Regions from separate parts of the Homo sapiens genome. Here region 1 is linked to region 2. Evidence: promoter capture Hi-C in 16 types of primary human blood cells and fetal thymus (Javierre and others, 2016). All regions are on one chromosome and are shown on one strand. Each heading gives the region's core, a stretch centred on a gene start or on the middle of the fragment in contact. The rest is flanking DNA. Distances are from core to core; before and after follow the strand shown. Region 1 holds the start of C2orf81 (chromosome 2 open reading frame 81). Region 2 holds the start of DGUOK-AS1 (DGUOK antisense RNA 1).

Evidence for each region. Contacts are between HindIII fragments. The CHiCAGO score rates a contact against its expected background, and 5 or more counts as called.
Region 1: a contact is called between the fragment with the promoter of C2orf81 here and the fragment with the promoter of DGUOK-AS1 in region 2, in 3 of 17 cell types (fetal thymus, naive CD4 T cells and naive B cells). The highest score is 6.1, in fetal thymus.

Annotation. Positions count from the first base shown.
Region 1 is chr2:74,416,992-74,423,529 of GRCh38, forward strand. C2orf81 (chromosome 2 open reading frame 81) reads right to left here and starts at 4,628. Exons shown (of 3, transcript NM_001316764.3): 1 at 4,552-4,628. The coding sequence starts at 4,569. It overlaps WDR54 (WD repeat domain 54), which reads left to right and starts at 4,739. Exons shown (of 10, transcript NM_032118.4): 1 at 4,739-4,825; 2 at 5,162-5,384; 3 at 5,879-5,941; 4 at 6,328-6,394; 5 at 6,487-6,538. The coding sequence starts at 5,163. It also overlaps the pseudogene HMGA1P8. RefSeq lists a silencer at 4,559-4,838 and an enhancer at 5,239-5,418. The HindIII fragment of the contact is 12,224 bases long and covers 3,625-6,538 here.
Region 2 is chr2:73,978,686-73,985,685 of GRCh38, forward strand. DGUOK-AS1 (DGUOK antisense RNA 1) reads right to left here and starts at 2,754. Exons shown (of 2, transcript NR_104030.1): 1 at 2,450-2,754. TET3 (tet methylcytosine dioxygenase 3) reads left to right here and starts at 6,225. Exons shown (of 12, transcript NM_001287491.2): 1 at 6,225-6,472. RefSeq lists an enhancer at 4,601-5,524 and silencers at 5,698-6,387, 6,146-6,344, 6,768-6,937. The HindIII fragment of the contact is 8,489 bases long and covers 1,113-7,000 here.

The DNA of each region.
Region 1 (6,538 bases), core at 3,378-5,877, 440 kb after region 2:
CCTAGGGGAGTAGTCAGTCACCCAGCCTGCCATGCCCCAGCCCCTCTTCTCCACGAAGAGTAACCTGGGGGAGGGGATCATGGGCAGAACAGGAGGCAATGTGGATGAACATTTGGCGCTGCTAGCAGCAGCAATGACAGATGTCAAAGAATGGAACATTGAACCAAAAACAAAACAACTGTCCAGAGGTAGTTTGTGAACAAAGGAAAAATGGAACCAGAACCTGGGGGGGTGGCAGGAGCAGGAGGGCTGGGAGTGGGAAGGGTGAGCTCCTTGTTATTGGTGCCCCATCTGAGGAGAGGAAAATGGCCAAGTGGTAGAAGCAAAGTAGGGTTGGGGGAGCAGCCCCAGCCCACCTCAGGTAGCTGCCACAGGGCTCATGGGCCTCACCTGGACAATAGGTGACTGCATCTCCATCACTGCAATATGTACTCAGATCCCAGGCAGACGGTAAGGGGGCTGGGGCCACTGCAAAGAGGGAGTAGGGGACTCACACCCCTCCCGCTTTCCTGTAGCCAATGGGGGCTGTCCAACCTAGTGCAGGGACTAGGGAAGGTGGGGAAGGATGAAAGGTGTGAGCCTCACGTGGTGACAAAGACAGTTTGGCTGGGGGAATCCTGGGGGCCAGCACCCCCCTCCATTGGCCACACCTGCTGCTGCCAGGACAGTGGAGTGGGGTGTGCCAGAATGGGGGCTTGGGCCCCTTTTAAGACCAGGGGAACCCTCCCAGGCCCCTCTATGGGAAGCCAGAGGCAACAGTGGAGGAGCAGAGAAGTGGCTCCCAAACCAAAAGCCCAGAGAGCAATGTCACCACCAAGGGATCAGGGACGCAGCAGGTGCAGGGTGCGGCTAAGCAGGACATTAGCCTTGTCCAGGAGGGCACATGTGTATGAGTGGGTGGACGGGGGGAGGAGGGGGTAGGGATGGGAAGAGGCCAGGGGAAAAGTCCTCTCCACTCAGCCCATAGGGACCTGCAGCGGCTGGTGTGTTGTGTAGTGTGGTGGTGAAGGTGCAGGTGGAAGATGAGGGTGGTGGCTGGAGGCGGTGGTGATGGTGGGTGTAGGGAAGGGGTGGGGGGTGGGAGGTGGGGGGTTGGGAGCAGATCAAAGCTGTCCAGTCCCAGAAGGAAGCTGCTCCTCCAGTGAGGACTCCTGCGAGATGCCCTTCTCTTCCTCCTTCTCCAGTTTTTTGGGTCTTCCCCTTGGTTTCCTTCCCAGAGTTGTGGTGGTTTTCCCGGTCTTGGCAGCACCCTTGTTTTTGCTTCCCTTTGGTCGGCCCCGAGGTCTCTTAGGTGTTGGCACTTCGCTGAGCTCCTTCTGACTCCCTACCAGCGCTGTCCTGGGACTCACCGGAGGCTGCTTGCGCGGCCTGCCACGGCCCCGCTTCTCAGTGCCGTCCTTTTTCTGCTTGGAGGCCAAGGGCTGGCTGGACTTCGAGCTCGACTCGCTCATCTTCCCTTCTCTAAGGACTAGTTGGAAAAGTGATGGCTGGGATGGGCGAACTCGGCCGCTGGCCTGCGGTGCATGCTCCGGTTTGCCGGGAGCAGCGGTGCTGGGCGCTGAGGACAGGCCAGTCTCCACCGCAGCCGCCCCTGGTCGCAAATGCGGATGCCTTCCTGGAGCCGCGCCAGCGCCAGAAATAGCCCAGGCTCGGAGTCCCACTTAGAAGAGCACAGCCCCGGCTCAGGGGAGCTTAAAAAGTTCTCTACATTTTTTTTTTTTAACCAACTATTCTTATCTCCATTTTATGGTAATTTACCCAGTATCATACAAGTAGGATGTAGTGAAGTCAGAATGCATTCACATGCAAGTCTGTCTGACTCCAGAGCCTCTCAAAGACATTTGCAACAAATATGAAAAAAGATAAATATCCCCGAGTAAATTAAAAGCTCATATAAAAAAAAAAATGGCCGGGCGCAGTGGCTCACGCCTGTAATCCCAGCACTTTGGGAGGCCGAGGTGGGTGGATCATTTGAGGTCAGGAGTTCGAGACCAGCCTAGCCAACATGGTGAAACCCCGTCTCTACTAATAATACAAAAATTAGCCAGGCATGGTGGTGGGCGCCTGTAATTCCAGCTACTAGGGAGGCTGAGGCACGAGAATCACTTGAACCCGGGAGGCAGAGTTTGCAGTGAGCTGAGATCATGCTACTGAACTCCAGCCTGGGTGACAGAGCGAGACTCTGTCTCAAAAAAGAAAAAAAAAACTAATAAAATAAAAAATAGAAGAAGAAAAATGGCCAGGCACAGTGGCGCACACCCACAGTACCAGCTGCTCGGGAGGCTGAGGCAGGGGGATTGCTTGAGCCCAGGAGTTCAAGTCCAGCTTGGGCTATATTGCAATAAAAATTTAAACTATAAGAAGAAAAACCATTTAAGATCCCAAAGATAAGCAAAGGACATGACATTTCACAAGAGAGGGACTGTAGATGACTAATAAATATAGTATTGACATTCTGATTTCTAGTTCATCAAATTGGAATTATTTTAAAAACAAGAATACTCAGCATTGGCAAAGGTTTAGTGTGATACCATGCTGCAACAGTATGCATGAAGACATTAAAAAATGTTTTCACTTCCTCAACCCTGCAATTTCAGTTCTATAAATACAACCAAAAGGCATTTTCTGAAATGAAGATAAAAATATATTCTCCAACAAATTCTCTGCGGTATTTTTATAATAGCAGAATATTGAAAACATGTCTTTAAAAAGAGAATAAATAATTGACATGCTATATATACTGAAATATTATGCAATGATTAAAGGTAATCTTTTTTTGTTTGTTTGTTTTTGTTTTTGAGACGGAATCTCGCTCTGTCACCCAGGCTGGAGTGCAGTGGCAAGATCTCGGCTCACTGCAACCTCTGCCTCCCAGGTTCAAGCAATTCTCCTGCCTCAGCCTCCGGAGTAGCTGGGATTACAGGCGCCTGCCACCAGGCCTGGCTAATTTTTTTTCTATTTTTAGTAGAGATGGGGTTTCGCCATGTTGGCCAGACTGGTCTTGAACTGGCCTCAAGTGATCTGCCCACCTTGCAGGCATGAGCCACCAACCCAGCCATTAAAGGTAATCTTTAGAAAGAATTTGCAATGGCATAAAGCAAATGTTTATGATGTAACGTTAATTGAAAGAAGCAGGATACAAACTTACACATCAATTATGATCTCATATATGTAAACCACTATGTGTTCAACAAAAGGAAAACTTCAAAATGATAACAGAGGATACGTTTCCTTCCTATGCTCTTTTCTATTTTGTAAGTTCTCTACAATGAGTTTGTTTCCTTTTGTAATCACTTAAAAAAAAAAAAAGACTAGTCCCCAAAACTCACTTTAGAGACATAAAAAGTTTACAAACAATCTCTTGGGAGCTCCCTCAATTCCCCACAACAGTCTCCCTGAACCTGGTTCCTTCCAAAATGTACTTCCAAATGTGATCTTCCCAAACCTTTGCCTATTGCCCCGCTAAAACCTTGTCTCATATCTGTTTCCTAAAATTCATTATCCCCCCAAATCTGCTGTTTCCTAAGTCTTGCAGAACTCAAAATCCCTGAAGTCTCATTAACCCTATCCACCAGTGAGAACAGCCCTGTAGCAAGCACCAGGAGTGGCCCATAGCCCAGGCCAAGCTTGACTAGAGCAGGGCTGACTGGACTGAGTAAAGAGAGTTGTTTCCTTAGACCTCCCCTCCCAGCCTCGCATCTGACACCCGTGATGGTGACCAGAAGGGACAGAGATATTTTTGCACAAAGGCTCTTCAAATCCGTTTTCTTTCTTCTTCTTCTTTTTTTTTTTTTTTTTTTTTTTTTTTTGAGACAGTCTCTCTCTGTCACCCAGGCTAGAGCGCAGTGGCGCGATCTCGGCTCACTGCAACCTCCGCCTCCCGAGTTCAAGCAATTCTCCTGCCTCTGCCTCCCGAGTAGCTGGGATTACAGGCACCGCGCCACCACATCCAGCTAATTTTTTGTATTTTAGTCGAGACGGGGTCTCGCCATGTTGGCCTGGCTGGTCTTGAACTCCTGAGCTCAGGCAATCCTCCCGCCTCAGCCTCTCAAAGTGCTGGGATTACAGGCATGAGCCATTGAGACCGGCCCCGTTTTCTTTATTTTAAAATTGATTGGCTCTTAAACAATTTGACTTTCAAGTGCAGTCTCTGAATTATTTAATATATTTCTTCCTCTTGAAATTCTCGAAATAGATTTTTTCTGTTATCTTCCCTCTCTAAATGCTCATCCATTTAAATACGCACCACCATGTAAGAGACTTACTACATTCATTAGCTGTTTCAAAATCCACTTCCTGTTCTCGGGCTCTACACCACCCACTGACCCTTTCCCTCATGGCTTGAGTGTAACAAAGCGTTTGAGTGGGCACCGTGCAGGTGTAGGTTTTCTGCCCGAGTACCGACGTGGCTTCCTTGGTCATCTAAACTCCCGCGCGGTGGGCGGGAGCAAGTAGGGGCACTGGGCGGCCCAGAGCCAGCCCACTGTTCCCGACACCGACCTTAACGGCCGACCCTGGCTCTGGCGCATCCCCAGCTGAACTGAAGCTCACCGAGCCTTCGTGCGCCATCGCCAACGCGGTCGCAGCAACGCTGGTGTTTCTGCTGCATCCGGGCCGCGTAAGCCACCTAACAGTCGCCTGGGCAACCACGGGCTCGGGGTCGCTCGCCCCGCCCACAGTTGCCCCGGCAACCGCGCCGCCCGCGGCACGTTCCGGCCGCTCACCCCGCCCAAGGGCCGTGCGTACGTGCGTCGTCTCTATGGTGGCGGCGGATTTGGAGGGACCCTACGAACCAGGAGTCAGGCGAGCCGATCTGGGGCTGCAGGTGTTACCTCTGATCTAGGCCGGGGGCTTCAGGGATCCGAGCCGAGGGAGAAAGCCTTGGGGGCTTCATCACACTTATTTGGCTCGCGGGCTTGGGGCCATCGGGTGGTCCTGTGTCATCCCCATTCCTCCTCTGCGATTCCCCCGTCGCCCCAAAACAGCCCTGGGACTCCCCTGTCTTGCTCCTCGAGACCCTCCCCCATCACCGTCCTCTGGGCACCCCATCCTATGACCCAGTCTCAGGCATCTTCCGAAATGCTCGATGATAGCCGCCCTCGGGCATCTCCGCTGCGTCTGTTTGTAGCGCGCCTGGTGATTCGGCTGCACCCCCACACAGGATGTTCCGCTGGGAGCGCTCCATTCCCCTGCGAGGCTCGGCCGCCGCCCTGTGCAACAACCTCAGTGTGCTGCAGCTGCCGGCTCGCAACCTCACGTATTTTGGCGTGGTTCATGGACCAAGCGCCCAGCTTCTCAGCGCTGCTCCTGAGGGTGTGCCCTTGGCCCAGCGCCAGCTCCACGCTAAGGAGGGTGCTGGAGTGAGTCCCCCACTTATCACTCAGGTGAGGCATGGAGCTGGGAGTGATGTTGCTGAACCCAGTCCTACCCCCAGCCTTTTCTCTCCAAACCTTCAGGAGCAGGCATGTCCTAACCTCAGAATCTCCCCAGGCATGTCCTAACCTCAGAATCTCCCCTCTCCTGCCGGGCGCGGTGGCTCACGCCTGTAATCCCAACACTTTGGGAGGCTGAGACGGGCACTTGAGGCCAGGAGTTCGAGACCAGCCTGGCCAACATGGTGAAACCTCTTCTCTACTAAGAATACAAAAAAAATTAACCGGGTGTGGTGGCGTGCACCTGTAATCCCAGCTACTTGGGTGGCTGAGGCAGGAGAATCGCTTGAACCCAGGAGGCTGAGGTTGCAGTGAGCCGAGATGGCGCCACTGCACTCCAGCCTGGGCCACAGAGCAAGACTCCGTCCCCCAAAAAAAAAAAAAAAACAAACAAACTCATCTTCCCTGCTTTGATTTTCTCCCTACACTGATGCACCTCCCTCCAGGTCCACTGGTGTGTCCTCCCCTTCCGAGTGCTGCTGGTACTCACCTCACATCGAGGAATACAGGTAAGAAGAGGACTCTCCTGCTTGCCCCACCAGAGCCTTCTCAGCTTCCCTGCCAGGCTTCCAGACTTTCCCACTTGCCTCTAAACACTTCCAGACTTTTCACATGCTTGGCCCACTCACTCTTTTTCTATTTCTTATCTTCAATCTTTCCATCTTTTCCAGTTTCCAAGTGCCACCTCCAGTATCTGCCCCTTTACTAGCTGTATGTCCTTACACTATTAACTTCTCACTCTCACTGTTGTCCTCTGAAAAAATTAGGATAAAAATAGTACCTACATCCCAGATTTGTTTTGAGGATTAAATGGGCTAAGGCTAACACGGATATGTGAAGTACTCAGCAGAGGTCAGTTGGGTTATGCCCCCTGGTTCTTGCCCCGGTCTTCCAGATGTACGAGTCCAATGGCTACACCATGGTCTACTGGCATGCACTGGACTCTGGAGATGCCTCCCCAGGTACCTGCAGGACCAAGTGGGGTGGGGGCAGGGAGTGTTTGCTAGGGCTGCAGGAGGGGATATTTCTGATCATTCTCCCCTTTCATATTCAGTACAGGCTGTGTTTGCCCGGGGAATTGCTGCCAGTGGCCACTTCATCTGTGT
Region 2 (7,000 bases), core at 1,504-4,003:
TACTAACCTTGATTCGATGTTAGAGTTTAACCAAGAGGCAGCTCATAGGACCTGGTTTCCACCGCCCCCCTCCCCCCCCCCGGAATCTCAGGCTGTGACAGGGGCTGCTCCTGGGTCTCTCTGTGGGCGCTGTCAAAATGGACCTCAAATGGGATGTGTTCTTGCTGACCTCATTGATCAACTTCCACCTTCTCTGGGCCCCCTGGCACTACCAACTACCCTGTTGTTCTTCCAGAAACCTCCCTTCCTATGCCCTCGTCCTGTGGGTTTGACTTCGTAAATCTTTCTTGATACCTCTCTCCCTCCCCACCACCACTACCCTAATGGAGACCATCATTTTTGTTTTCTCACTTAGGTTTCTGCAACAGCCTTCTAGCTGCTCTCTCTGCCTCTATTCTGACACCCTCCTCTAATGTATTCTCTATATAGCAGCTGGCACTGAGTAAGATGTGGTCCTGTCCACAGCTGAGGGGATGGGACAGACCCAGGCATACCTGTGATCTGATTGGTGGGCCCCTTACCCAATCTTGAGAGATCATCAAAGGCTTCCTGAAGCGTCACCTGAGTTTAACCAGGAAGGATGAGTGGGAGTTAATGGCAAGGCGGCAGGAAACGCCTCTGCTAAAGCTACGCTGTTTTAGAAGTTTCCTTTAGTAGGCAGGCTCCTTGTGTCATACACCCTGAGTACCTTCCTTTCCTGGATTTCTTTCTCTATTTACAAACGAATTTCTACTGAGTTTGTCCCACAGCCACTCACCTCTTCTACTATGTTTCCTTCAACTCTTATTTTTTTTCGCTTTAGTTTAAATCTCTGAACCTGCTCTAGTGCAAGGTAAGACAGTCCTTTACACTAGGAATCTCTAATATGTGTCGCCAGGAGGGAGGAATGCTCTGGAAATGGGCAGTATGTGTAATTGCACATACCTCAAATATACACATATACATTCACACACTCACACACACTCCCTGTGTGTTAGTGCTGTTAACCAAATACTTCTGCTTATCCTTCCTGCACATAGCAGGATTGTACTTATTGCACTTCCCTGCCCCCTTGTAACTTTCTTTGGCCAGTGAGATGACAGCAGGAGTGATGTGTGTCACTTCCAGGGAAAAGCTTTAAGAGCCAGTGCTAGATTTGCCCCATTCTTGTTTCCTGCCTTCAGGGTTGAGGAGATGCATGTCCAGTTGCAGCAGCCTGGATGCCCGAGTGATTACGGGAAACAGAGCTCCTAATGACTCATAATGGACACGTTTTGTGATTGAGAAATACACTTTTGTTATGTAAAGCCACTGTGATTTGGGGATTGTCTATTACTCCAGCACAATCTAACTGATCCTGACTGATACACCCTGTCAACCAAGGCTCAGGGGCACCAAGGCCTTTATCCCTGTTGGGTATTCCTTCCATTATGATGGGTACCCTTGCATTCTCCTTGCAAGTAATGAAGCCTATTTGATTCAAAAAATTCAAAATGCAGTCACAAAACTAGTTATAAAACATGAGGACATTTGCGGGGCTATTGAAAAACGTAGTAGCCGGGCGCGGTGGCTCACTCATGTAATCCCAGCAGTTTGGGAGGTCGAGGTGGGTGGATCATGAGGTCAGGAGTTCAAGACCAGTCTCTACTAAAACTACAAAAATTAGCTGGGCGCGGTGGCAGGTGCCTGTAATCCCAGCTACTCGAGAGTCTGAGGCAGGAGAATCATTTGAACCTGGGCAGCAGAGGTTACAGTGAGCCCAGATCGCGCCACTGCACTTCAGCCTGGGTGACAAGAGTGAGACTCCATCTCAAAGAAAAAAAAAAAACCAAAACCCAAAACCAAAACAAAACAAAAAACCCAAAAACGCATAGCATAGATATCCTACACGTGTCACACTCACCAATGCAGGTCCACAAGCAACCCACTAATGAACCTCCCTTTCCCTGAGAGCAAAATGCCAGCTTCTGCCTGGTATCAGCTCTAGCATTCGTGGGCTAATTTCAGAGGTCCTGGATTGTAGGTCCTGGATTCTGACATGTAGTAGTGAATGACCTTGGACAAATTACCTCACTGAGCGCCAGTTCTCTTATCTGTAAAATGGTGATGATAATAAAAACTATGTCATAGATAAGGAAAGTTAACATTTGCACATTTGTTGTATTTGCCACTCTGTGCAGACAGAAGGATAATGTGTGTGGAAGTGCTTTGAAAAGGGAAAGATCTATGCAAATATTAGTTGATAATATTTTTAGCCAATACATGACCAAAGAAGTAATACATCCAAAATCAAATAAACCTCCCAATACCTTCAGTCTTTAAAACCAAGCCCAGGTATGGATATCGGGATGTATTTACATTTCTGCAAAAGGTCCCCATACGCAAATCTCATTCTTAAATAAGGACAAATTACTCATTAGCTGAAGAGGAGAGAGGTCAAGTACCTGAGGAGGTTAGTCACATCAATCACCTGAGAGTTCAGCAGCATCCAACAGTGTTAGTTCCACGTGTTAACTTCCTGAAGAACCACAGGCTTGCACATCCAATTATGCTTCCTGTCCCTTTCCTCCCCCGTGCGGAATCAACTTCAGCTCATCAATGGGGTAGGAAAGCCTCCTTATTTCGCACCCTCCATGCTCCAGGCATCCAGGGAAATGCCCCTGCCACCCCTATCTCCCTTGAGTTCTTAGGGCTTCCTCCTCTAGCAAGGAGATTTCCCTTTCTAGTCCCGGGGGCAGCGGCACAGCCCGGCTCTGACCTCGCGGGAGCAGTCGCCTAAAAGAGGCTCCGCCCTTGGCCGCTTGGGGTGGCGCCCGCCAAACCCGCTCCTAAAAGGAGCCTCTCTCCCTCTGTCTGCTCTAAGCGCCTTGGGGGCCTAATCGCAGTCTCCACCTGGGTGCTGAACTTCCTTCTCCCCCGCTTGCTGTAGTCCAGTGCTGCTCTAACTTGACTTCACCTGACGGACTAATTAAAACAGATTGCTGGGCCCGCCCCCAGGGTTTCTGATTCAGTGGGGTTAGGATGGGGCCGAGAGCTTGCATTTCTAGCCAGTTCCCAGGAGATGGTGATGCTGCTGGTGCCGGGGCTCTCTTGGCGGAACCACTGCGTCTAGGCTAATGCAGCCCCAGGAAGGGCTCGCCCTATCCCTACGCCCACCCCCGCTGCTCTCCTGCCCTGAGCGCAATGTGAATGGGAATAGCCGCAGCAGCCCAGGAGGCTGGAGAACCAGAAGGCAGGACCTGAGGAGTTTAGGCTGTTTTATCTTGGGCGCCCCTGACCAGTTTGTGCAAGTCGTAAAGAAAGCAGGAAAGAAGCCTATGGGTCTTCAGTGTTACTGGGGTCTGTCATTCATTAGGGTCTACTCACCTCGTCTCTTCATTCAACACAGTGGTTGGTTGCTAGGTCTAGGGTTATGAGGTGAAAGACAGCGTGCTACCCTTCCAGGAGTTTGTAGTAACTGGGAAAGAAACATGCAAACCATTCCAGTGCCCAGCGCCGATGAGATAACTGTTCCTAGGCAGGGAGAGTCAAACTTCTGTGGAGGGAGAGTGGGTGGGGCTCTGGAATCATCTGAGCAGCTGGAGGTTTCATGGAACTGGCACTTATGACTTGCAGGATGAGTGGGAATTTGGCAGGTACAAGGGGTAGCTGAGAAGGGGTGGGGTGGGAAGGGTTTTTCCCCAGGCAGAAGGAATGAGCAACAGGACTGCCGAAGTGTAAGGTTCCAGAGGCCGGGAAGATATGACAGGCAGCTCTCTAGCCTGGCTGGGTTCCCTCCAACCTCTCTGGCGGCGCCTTCTCAGCTCCTGTCCCTCATGGGCTGGTATTCCCTGGGGCTCTGTCCTGGCAGCCTTTCCCTCTCACACTCCATATCCACCCTGGATGAGCTCCTCCACAACTGAGGCCTCGCTGTCTGCTCACTGATGGGGCCCAAATCTCAAACCCAGGCCTCACCCCCTCAGTTGCACACTCACTTTCACACGAATGTCTCCATCCCCAGGCATCCTTCCTTCTGCATTTTGTCACAGTGAATGGCACCAGCATTCACCCAGTTACCTAAACGAGAGGGCTTTATGAAATGACCCTCTCATAGATTGCTGGCAAAGAGTAAATGACACAGTAACTTGCTGGTGCCATTTACCCAGACAGAATACAAGAGGATGGCTGCTGGGCTCCTCTGAAAGTCCACAACTTACTAGCTGAGTGATCCTGGGCAAGTTATTTAATCTGTTTTCTTATCCATAAAATGGGTTTGATGATAGTACCTACCTCACAAGGTTGTCATATGGATTAAACAATATTAGTTGTTGTCATTCATTGAGCCCTATATTAAGTCTTTTACTTGGATTCCCTTGAAGATGGAGTACCTAGTCCAAGGTCACACTGTTACCAAGTGGCAGATTCAGGTTTGGAAGCCAGAGTTCTCTGGCTCCTGAGCCATCTTCTTCACCTCACTGTCACACTTTCTGAAAACTGTATACCAAACAGGGAAATGCCTATGGTACAATGTTAAGTTAAAAGAGGATGGCAAATTGTATAATCAGTGTGAGTAAATCCACAAATAGGAAAGGCTACAAGGAAATATAGCAAATGGTTAAATATGGTTGTAATTTGGTGATTTTTCCCCTCTAGTATCTGTAGTCTCCACGTCTTCTTTATACACATTTTTTATTAATAAAGTTGCTTATTAAAAATATATTACATTAAAAACAATTACGAGTCTGCAACCTGTTCCCCTGTTTGAAAATTGCACTCTCTTGGTTTTTCGTCTCGGTTCTAGTCTTACTACCCTGAACAGAAACTCTTCAGTCCTCCCAAAGGCCATGGTAGGAAGTGGATATTGCAGCCATGTTCACCCCCACCCACTCCCTCGCTGACAACCTGGACCCTGGAGCAGGCTGTCAAAATCAGAGGGAAGTTCCAGATAGAACCCGGGCTGCTTTACCGCCTAGGGCTTTCTGGACAGCGCTACTTCAGATCAGTTACTTTTTTTTCTTTCTTTCTAAATAGCCGGCCGAATGCTCTTTTTCCAGTTCTGGCTAAGCTGTTAGCTGCAGCCGGGCGGCGACGCCTGCCAGGTACCTGGCTCCGTGAGCACCGCCCAAACTGGTCAGGCCAGTCCGTCCTGTGGCTGTTTCTGCCAGGACTCGCCCGAGTGTGTGTGTGCGCGTGTATGTCAGAGACCCACCCTGCTCCCCTGCAACCGAGGTAGGTGGAAGGCAGTTGCAGGCACCAGCCTGGCAGTCAGGCCAGATGGGTGGGGCTGAATTAATCTAACCTGGAATTTCAACTTGGCCTGCACAACAGGTGAGGGAAAAAAGCAGCAGAGAGAACGGGCAGTTTGGCAACTTGGAAATATTCCTGAGCCCTGCCCCTTACCCCCTGCCTGGAACGTAGCCCAGGGTGACTCTTCAAAGTGTCTGCGCCGGGTTTTAGGGCTTAGTCGCCCCACGGCCCCCTCGAGGCTGTCCGAGGCCCTCCTGAACGCTGTCCTCCTCAGTTACCCTCCGCGACGCGCCCGTTCCCCCTCCTCTGGGAGGCAGGGCGGGGGTATCGGATTAGTCTTTGTTTTCGACGCGAAAGAATCGAGCGCGGCGCGGGGGAGGCTGGTGATGGCAGGGCCGTGGGGTCCACCTGGACAGGGCATTCGGCCGTGACCCCTGCGAGGGTGCCCTTAGCCTCTGCCCCCGAGCAACCCCTTCTTGCCGGCCAGGCTGACTCGGTACGCAAACGCGCGATGTCCCCCATTGTCCTGCCTCGGAATGAGCCAGCGGCAGCTGGGACAGGGGGGTCAGTCGGGCCCGGCGCTCAGGCCTCCCGGGGGCGCCGGGGCTGTCCCGGACAGATCTGGCCCGCAGGGAGTGGCAGGAAGTGGGGACACCGAGCGAGGCTCGGCCGAGGGCCTAGGCTGGAAGGTCCGCGTGCCCCACCCCGCCTCGCCGGCCCCGGCTGCAGCCCCGCCGGAGGGCGAGGGTGGCCAACCCGAAGGGGGCGGCCGCCTCCCGGGAGGGCCGACCGCGTGGGTGGGAGCCACTGCAGGTGCAGAGAAGCGGCGGCCGGGCCGGAGCCTGCCCCAAGCCGCTCGCAGGCCGCCCACCCGACCCCTCCCCTCCGCGGGAACCACCCCCCTCTCGCCCGGCCCGGGGCCCGGCCGGGCCGGCGGGGCTCGGCGGGGCCGCACGTGTGCGCCCTCCCGGGCGGGGGAGTCCCCGGGCGAGCACGTGCCGCGGTGCGCGGGGGGCGGGGAGTCCCGCGGACGCCTTCATTGCTGCTGCTGCTGCCGCCGCGGCCGCCGCTGCCTCTTCCTTCCTCCTGCGCCGTCCCCTCCTCGGCCCGGGCGGGGGGCTCCGCGCGCTGAGCTCGGTCGGGCCGGGCGCTCCGGGAGGCGGGAGCCCCAGGCGGCGGCGGCGGCGGCCGCGACGGTGGTGGCGGCGGCGGCGCGGGCCGGGAAACTTTGCCCCTTTGTGCGCTCCGCCCCGGAGGCGGCGGGCAGGTCGGTGCAGTCGGTGCCTTTCCGGCTCCGGAGTGGGGGAGGGGCGGCGGGAGGCGCGGGGGGCCCGGCCCGGGGGAGGGGGAGGGGACGGCCCGGATCCGGCGGGGGGCCGCTCCTCCGGTGCGGGGGGCCGGACTGGGGTGCTGCGGGGCGCTGTGCGGCTGAGCCGGGCGGGGGTGGCGGGGCGGGGGCGGGGGCTGCGAAGCCGCCGGAGCGGAGTGGCGGAGGCCCCAGAACAAAGGAGCCCGAGCGGCGGCGCGCGCGCGGCCCGGCCCGCGGCTCGAGCGCGCCCCCCTCCCCGCGCCCCTCGGCGGCGCGGGCCGCCCTCCCCAGTCGGGCTGGCGGGCTGCGCTCCGGCGGCGGGCGCGGCGGGCGCGGGCTGCCCAGGGCGCGCCCCCACCTCCAGGCGGCTTCCGTGCCGGGGGCGCCGGGGCAGTCCCGCCGAGCGAGGCTCTCAGCAAACTTTATTTTGAAAGCTCAGCTCCCTAGGGAGGGCCCGGCGGCCTCCAGCCAGGGCGTGTGGGGGAA